3 separate regions of the Homo sapiens genome follow, and all the other regions are linked to region 1. Evidence: promoter capture Hi-C in human tissues and cell types (Jung and others, 2019). All regions are on one chromosome and are shown on one strand. Each heading gives the region's core, a stretch centred on a gene start or on the middle of the fragment in contact. The rest is flanking DNA. Distances are from core to core; before and after follow the strand shown.

What was found. The method cuts DNA at HindIII sites, captures the fragments that hold promoters and counts their contacts. A contact is called where the count stands out against the background at its distance.
Region 2: a fragment that was not itself captured here is called in contact with the fragment with the promoter of C19orf12 in region 1 in 1 of the 25 tissues and cell types used here (H1 embryonic stem cells).
Region 3: a fragment that was not itself captured here is called in contact with the fragment with the promoter of C19orf12 in region 1 in 1 of the 25 tissues and cell types used here (dorsolateral prefrontal cortex).

The regions. Positions count from the first base shown.
Region 1 is chr19:29,714,011-29,716,710 of GRCh38, reverse strand. C19orf12 (chromosome 19 open reading frame 12) reads left to right here and starts at 1,450. Exons shown (of 3, transcript NM_031448.6): 1 at 1,450-1,586. RefSeq lists enhancers at 91-310, 856-955 and a silencer at 1,126-1,915. The HindIII fragment of the contact is 8,975 bases long and covers 1-1,476 here.
Region 2 is chr19:30,234,888-30,237,587 of GRCh38, reverse strand. It overlaps a transcript of ZNF536 not described here. Among named protein-coding and RNA genes, the nearest start is that of ZNF536, 140 kb to the left of the region's middle. The HindIII fragment of the contact is 8,727 bases long and covers 1-2,700 here.
Region 3 is chr19:30,638,873-30,641,572 of GRCh38, reverse strand. It overlaps a transcript of ZNF536 not described here. Among named protein-coding and RNA genes, the nearest start is that of ZNF536-AS1, 30 kb to the left of the region's middle. The HindIII fragment of the contact is 3,093 bases long and covers 1-2,700 here.

The DNA of each region.
Region 1 (2,700 bases), core at 201-2,700:
CGCAGAGAAACGGGAGCGCCACACTCAGGCCCCAGGAAGGCAGCAAGCTGAGTTCCCCTGGCCTCAGTTCACTTTCCCTCTTGAAAGTCACCCAAACTCAAGCAAAAGCTCCGATTCAGGAATAAATGGGGTTGTTTTATCCCAGCCAAGGCCTGGGGAAGCTTGGTATTAAGAGCGTTTGTTCCATTCTTTTAAAAATGGAAAAGGGTCCGTCCTCTGGGTGCCCATGGCACCCTGGAAAGCAGGCAGAGTGCTGGTCACAGGCGGAGACTTTGAGATACCGAGACCGAGGCTGGAGTTTGGGCCCTGAAACTTTCTAACCAGGATGGCCTTGGGCAGAGCAGCCTGTGTTTAGAGCTTCCCATCTGTAATATAGCAGTGACAACCATGCCTGCTTTGCAGGGTTCCTGTTAGGATTAATTCTCTATAGAGCCCCCCAGAAGCCACTTTTGGATTTGAGATGGTTCAAGGCCAGACCTTGCATGACAAGAGTAGGGACAGCTTTCCACAGGCCTCAATAAAGTAGTATTCCCAGGCAGTTCTGCAACCCCAGCCTCATGCCCTTTGCACCTTCCTAAGAGGCTGCCTTGCCTCAGCTTTGGTCCCCATCCAAGACTCCTAAGAGCAAAGCCAGTTCTTTTCCTTTTTTTTCTTTCTTTAAGAGACGGTCTCACTCTGTCACCCAGGTTGAAGTGCAGTGGTGGGATCATAGTTCACTGCAGCCTCGAACTCCTGGGCTCAAGCAATCCTCCCGCTTCAGCCTCCCAAAATGCTGTAGGTCACAGGTATGACTCACCCACCCGGCCTAATTTTTATTATTATTTGTAGAGATGGGATGTCACTGTGTTGCCCACGCTCGAACTGCTGGGCTCAAGCAATCCTCCCTCCTCAGCCTCACTGGCAGCTGGGATTACGAGTCCCACCCAACCTGCTTCTCCTTTTGCAACCCCCAGACCCAGAGGCTCCAGAGCAGGCTCTGGAACAGAGGAAATCTGGCTCCGGCCCACACATTCACCAAATACTGACGCAGCACCCTTGACCTCCAGATGCCCCTGTGCTCTCTTCTGTGCCCAGGCTGCGGGGAGAGAGGGGTCCTCCAGGCCAAAGGGAGGGAGGTCTCCGGGAGGTCCCCGCGGTCCTGGAGGCAGGTGCGCGGGGCCCGGATGTGATCATGCGTGCGCGTGGGAGAAAGGCAGGGCTGGGCCTGCGGGAGCGCGGCCTTGCGGTTCCCAGGACTCTTCTCCGGGCGCCTCGTCTCCTTACGCCACCCGCAACCCAAGCCAGGGCCCCGGTGACAGCGGCGGGGTGGGCCAGGACCGGGGAGGGGGTGCCCAGCAGCGACCCCCGGCTCCCCCTAAGGCCGGGCGCAGCTCGGAGCCAGGAGCTGGCCCGGCGCGTGGCTTCCCGGAAGGCCCGGCGCAGCCGGAAGGTGGGACGGAGGGCGGGGCCAGCGCCGGGGCCGCCACCAAGGCCTGCGCGACCCTCCGCGGGGCTGGGGAGCTGGGCGGGGAGCCCGGGGCCTGCCAGGCCCGGGCTGCAGCCGCGTCTGATCGCCGAGCGCGCCGCGTAGACCTCCGCTCCCCCAGGTAAAGGAGCGCCCGGAGCCGGGGCGGGGCGCCTCCCAGGCCGCGCCCCGCGAGAGGAGGGGGCACCCCAAGAGCAGGCCTGGAGACCCGGGAGTGCCTTGGGGAGAGGGTCCCCGCCCTGCCGGGAGCCCGGCCCTCCCGGTGCCGGGGTGGACACTGTTAGTGTAGTCATTGTCCCTATGGAGAAACTGAGGCATGGAGAGGCTGAAGTCACACAAGTAAGCAGCAGAGCTGGGACTAGAGTCCCGGGCCCTGGCTCGCTGTCACCCAGGAGTGGCGTAGGCATGGGTGTGGTGGGTGGGGGTGGGGTGCGGGTGGTGGATGTGGTGGGAGTGGGTGAGGTTGGGTGGGGTGGGGATGTGGGTTTGGCGGGGGTGGGGTGCGGAATGTGATGGGTAGGGGTGGGGTAGAGTGGGGGTGGCTGGTGGGGCAGGGGCGGGGCTGGGGGTGGGGTGCTAGGTATTATAAATGTGAAGCGGATCCTGACAGGACACCTGTGGGGCAGCGGAGCTGGGCTGAGCCATATGGGAAGAAAATCTGGGCGCTAGTTTAGATTTGGTCAGGAAGGGTCGTTAATGCTTTAGGAGGTGAGATTAGTTTTGGGGATGGCAGGTAGTTTGTTGAGCTTTTGTTTAGACAGTCTTGCTCTGTTGTCCAGGCTGGAGTGCAATGGCGCGATCTCGGCTCACTGCAACCTCCACCTCCCTCGTTCAAGCAATTCCCCTGCCTCAGCCTCCCTAGTAGCTGGGATTACAGGCGACACCACCAAGCCTGGCTAATTTTTTTGTATTTTTAGTAGAGACGGAGTTTCACCATATCGGCCAGGCTAATCTCAAACTCCTGACCTTGCGATCCACCTGCCTCAGCCTTCTGCAATGCTGGGATTACAGACGTGAGCCACCCCGACCAATTTTTGTATTTTTTAGTAGAGACGGGGTTTCACCATCTTGGAATAGCACCTGTAGTTCCAGCTACTCGGGAGGCCGAGGCGGAAGAATTGCTTGAGGCCAGTTCCCGACCAGCCTAGGCAACACAGGGAGACTGCGTTTCTGGAAAAAACAACAACAACACCAGCAACAACAAAAAGCAGGAAGGAAGGGGAGAGGGAAAGAGA
Region 2 (2,700 bases), core at 104-2,603, 520 kb before region 1:
TGATGATAGAGATTAGTAAAAGGAGGGTCGCCTTGGCCCCCACAGTCCAGCAAGAATTCCACTCGCCTACCTTTGAGATGAAGATCAGTGATCATAAATACCTTCACGTTTAAGCTCAAATTATCATATTATGATTTTGTGTTTGATTCTGCTAAGCCCTCTGATTCCTAGAGAAACAAGGGCTCCATCCCCAGCCTCCCCAGGCTGCCTGGCCCTTTCACAATGGCCTCCACGGGAGGCCAACCTCTACCAGAAGTGAGTCAAAGAGACAGATTCCAATGCGAAAGTCTGTCCCGGGGAAGGAAGCAGCTGGAAACCACTCATTCTTCAGATCAATGAACAAATTATTTTATTGAAGGTGGTATTTGGAGATCACACAAAAATTGTGTGATTTTCATCTGAGCAATATTATCATGCAAAGGGAGAAAAAGTTTTCTTAACAACAGACTCCTGCTGTCCCCCAGATCCACACAGGGGCCTGGTATTTTTCACCTGAGTGGCCAGGCTCCTTAGCCAGGCAGTGCCTAGAAGAAAAAAAAAAAAATCTCACAAGAATCTAGCTCCTGTCAACATTTTGAGACGTGAGGATCAAGTTGCTGGTGTCAGTGAGACAAAGGAGCAGAATGTCAAAATGCAACCAGTTCTTCAGGAAGCATTTGGAAGATGGCACATACTCTAATATCTGGAATATATTACTTGACCTCACCAGACAGCCATCGCCAAAGAACAAACATGCCAACATGCCGGGCATACACATCCCTACCACCCCCCTCCAAAGGACAAGCCATATCACCATCCGTTACATCCCAGGGCACTGTCATGGGGAATGCCAACCAGATGACCAGACCCTGGCTGAGCTAATCGTTTGTCACCTACTAAGAAAGCCACTGTGTCTTCTTGGGGTGGCAGTAGTTATTAAAGGGGAAAATTGCTACCTTGCAGCCTTAATCCATTTTTAGATGATGGAAATGTTCATGTTATCTTGTCTGTACTTCTTCTGCCTTCAAAATAGATGGAAATTTTAAATGGAACTAAAATTCCAATTGTACCCCCCCCCCGCCCCAACTTTAACAAAAGCTTTTTCAAAATACTTTCAGGATGAATGTGTACACACAGGGTGAAAAAGCCAAAAAGAAGGAAATGGGTGGGGTGGGGGGGCTGAAACAAAACAAAACAAAAATCACACGGAAAATAAATATGAAGTTGTCAAACCAATGATCTCTAAAAAGAATTGCAGATGGAGTGTCTGGCTTTTTGCTTAAGAAATGGTGCATGCAATGTCCATGAGAGCTCCAGGCAGGCTGTGGCTTCAGACTGTTCCCAGCTACATGCAAGTCCTCAGTACCCGGCGGCGGCAGGACTCAGTGAGAGAGTGGCTTTGCCAAGACCAGCACAGAAGCAAGCCCTCCACTATCAGAGGAGGTTTCGGCTGCGCAGATTAAATCCTTTCATGCCGGCATGTGGCCGCTTTTCTTCCTCCTCGCATTCCCACACTACCACTTTTCCACCTTTTGAACTCTTCTTGGGCTGTTGGAGGGGGACTGCCCACCCACCAGCATTGACCCTCTTTCGGGTGGAAACGTTGGGGAATAAAGTTTCTCTGATGCTGTGGAATCCATGCACTGAGTTTAATGAACAGATCCAGCCATGTTCTATCCGTGAGACGCTCTCTGCTCGGTGCAGATTTAAGGCTGCTGAAATAGCCACTTGGCATCAACAGATTACAACCCCAAAACTGGGGGCCCTGGCCGGGGAAGCAAAATAATTAAAGCACTTTAGCTCTAATTGCAGTAAGACTTCCCAGCCCCTTCAATAGGCTTCATATAAATGACGGCCTTTCCATAATAATTTGGAAGACATTGCCTGATTTGATTTAAATAGATTTTAATCGGGAATTAAAATTTTGGGAAAATAACCACACACAAAAATTGTGTAAGCTACTTTTTTTCTCTAGTCAATAAGGGATAAGTGTTTCTAGATATTTCAGAAGATAAAATTAAATATCAAGCTATTCAAAGAGATTAAATTTTATATGTAATATCTATGTGGGCTGTGATCTGTTTGCTGTCTCTATAGTTACTTGTTAGCTGACATAGCATTTCCAAATATTTTCTCCCTCTTAATAACAAATTCACAACAATGTATATGTTCTCAAAGTAGCAAGTTCCGGTTGACATTTTTAACTTTCCTTTTCAAGGCGGGTTAACATTATTCAGAAGGATGATTTTGTTCTCAGTGCTAAGGACAGTTTAGGGAGGCAGGAGTGCAAACAAGGCTGAGACACGCGCCTCCTGGGCCAATGCAGCTGGCTTCCAATGCCCGCTCGGCCATGCCACAGGCATGGGCAGCAACAAGTTCCTACACCCCTCAGTTTGCCCACTGCGGAAGCTGCCCCAAGGGAGGCCCTTCCCTGGGGCATTAAAAGAACTAAGCAAGATAATGCACCCGGGGTGTGTAATGTAGTGCCTGGCATGGGGTCACCACCCAATAGTGGCCACTGCAGGTGTCAATGTTGTGGCCACCTCTCCATACCTACACCGAAGAGCCCCAAACCTTCCCTTCCTCCTGTACCTGGAAACCACAAGCAGGAATGTCTGCTGAATTAATACCACCTCCCGAGGGTCCTACGATCTGGTACTTGCATGAACCAAACTCTCCTTCAAATTTATGGGAATTATGAGGGAATCTCAGAAATGCAAG
Region 3 (2,700 bases), core at 30-2,529, 930 kb before region 1:
AATAATAAAAACATTGGAAACAGTCGACATATTCAACAATAGGGTAAATAACTATATAATGATATTTTAGTGTAGCCATACGTTTATACATATACGTTTTAATAACATGAGAAAAAATTTCATACTACACATATATATTACATGTATATGACATGCAGAAATCATATGACAGCAAGATTACAATTCCATAAAAGCTAGGCACAGGAAGAAAGCTGAAAGGAGATAAACTAAAACTGTGGCATTCTTCATGCAGTAAGCAATGTCTGGGAGTTTTTTCTATTTTTTAAATAATCAGAACAGAAAAAAATAGAATTTGCTTTTCTTTCAAGAAAACACAGGTTGATTTCTTTTTTGAGAAGTAAAACAGATTGGGTTAAATGTAGTATATTAAAAGTAAGCTTCAGTTAACTTCCATTTTTTGTGAAAAAGTAAAATTTCTATTAATGCTAAAGATTTTATCTCACGAACATGGTAAAATGTTTTATTTAAATATTTTATACTTGAAATATTATAAGGCCTTAGCTGCTGATCCAGAGATAACTAAGCGGTACTGAAGCTGAACTAGAGACTTACGCAGGTGGGAATGTGTACAGCTGCATAGGGTTTTCATGTGTCCACAGCATTCTGTGTCTATGTCCCAGACAGGGCCTTCATACCAAACCAGGATGTGCCCCAGGAGACGTGCTCCCCAACAGCAGGGCTGTGAATGACGGCATTCTGCTGCTGACACGAGGCCCTAGCCCAGGTCTGGTATAAGACAACATCTTAGTAAATGCTGCATAAGAAATGAATGTCCTTTGAATGTGCCTCTGATCTCTGTGAAACTGTAAGCTTGCCTGGAATGATGGCCACTGCTACCACTTCATATAGGATATGGAGTGCCTGTGCCTGCACAGAGGGATATTCAGGAGCTACCAGTACAAACACCAGGTCAGCAAACCTCCCTGCCTTGCAGGCTGGTAAGACGGTGCAGGGAGAAGCCTGGAGGATCTTGGGCCTGACTCTTGCGAGGCACAATCTTACGATACCTCAATTTGCCAGTCCTTAGAACTGGGGAGATAATCTTCTTCCCCAGAGATTTTGGTGTGCTGAGTCAGAAGTAAAGAAATAAGTTTTCTCTCAAAGGCTGAAACAGTGCTGATTGCCAAACAGGGGAGGAAAATCTGGTTTTAGTTATTTAAGACGTTATTTTACTTCTACTTCTGGCTATAGTAAAAGAGCCTGTAACAAATCAACTGTCTTATTGAGCACAACTAGAAAAGCTGCATGAAAAAAACAGTGGTGCGTATTTGTGTGTATATAACCAATTTTTTTTTTCTTGAGACAGGGTCTCACTCTCACTCTGTTGCCCAGGCTGGAATGCAGTGGCGTGATCTTGGCTCACTGCAACCTCTGCCTCCCGGATTCAAGTGATCCTTCCACCTCAGCCTCCCAAGTAGCTGGGACTACAGGCACGTGCCACCACGCCCAGCTAATTTTTGTATTTTTTGGTAGTGATGGAGGTTTCACCGTGTTAGCCAGGCTGGTCTCAAACTCCTGACCTCAGGTGATCTGCCCATCTCGGCCTCCCAAAGTGCTGGAATTACAGGCGTGAGCCACAGCACCTGGCCAGTATGTGAGTATATAAATAATTTCAAGGTGTAATAGAGTTATCAAAGGAGCCAAGACTTGACAGGTCAAGATTCTAAAAAGGAAGGAGCACAGAATGCTGGGCTTGCTTTTGACTTTGCTTTTCCCCTTGAGACAGTTGTGAACTTACAAATGGCAGCCAACGAGATGCTGAGAAGCAAAGCAGAGACATCCGTAGTCCAAGGGACCAAGAAGATAAACACCAGAATCTAGGGCTTTGTAAGGCAGAAGTTTCCTGATAAGCACCCCGCACACTTATTTGTTACCCCTAAAGGGGCAGAAGAAGGAGTAAGAACAGATAAGAAATAAATCCTTAAAATCTGCTCAATTTCTGATTGACTTATGGTGATCTTCCGCAAGCCTAATGGCCTACTGGAAACAAAAGTAAATCCTCCCTAGAGGAAGATAACACCATCCAGAGCTGTGCTGCCTGCCAGGGTAGCTGACGGCCATGTGGCTACTGGGAACTTGGGATGGGGCTTTGTCAGAATTGAGAAGTGCTATGAGGGTAAAACACTCACTGGATTTCCAAGACTTAGTACAAAAAAGACACGTAAAATGTCCCATTAATACTCTTTATATTGGTTACCTGCTCAAATGATAATACTTCGGGTACACCAGGTTAAATACAACAAAATACGTTCTTAAAAATAGTTAACTATGTATTCATGCTTATTTAATGTTGCTACTACAAAATTTAAATGACGTGGGTGGTTCACATTACATTCCTATTTGGCAGTTCTCATACAGTCAAAAGGCATCTCTAAAATTTGTATACGCCATGTCTGACATTTGATAAAAATTACCAGGAACACCAGGAAATACGACCAAATGAGTAAAAACAAAGACAGAAAATCAGGCAACAGCTAATGTAATCAGGCCTACCAAAGATACAAATATTGAGTTCTAGAGTTACAGACTTTAGAATAACTATACCTGATATATTTAAGAAAATAGATGACAAGATAAGGAGTTTAGGTAGAAAATGGGAATCGCCAAAAGAAATCAACTGGAAATTGTGAGACTAAGAGTACAATATCTGAAATTCAGAGCTAGACAGTTTTGAAATAC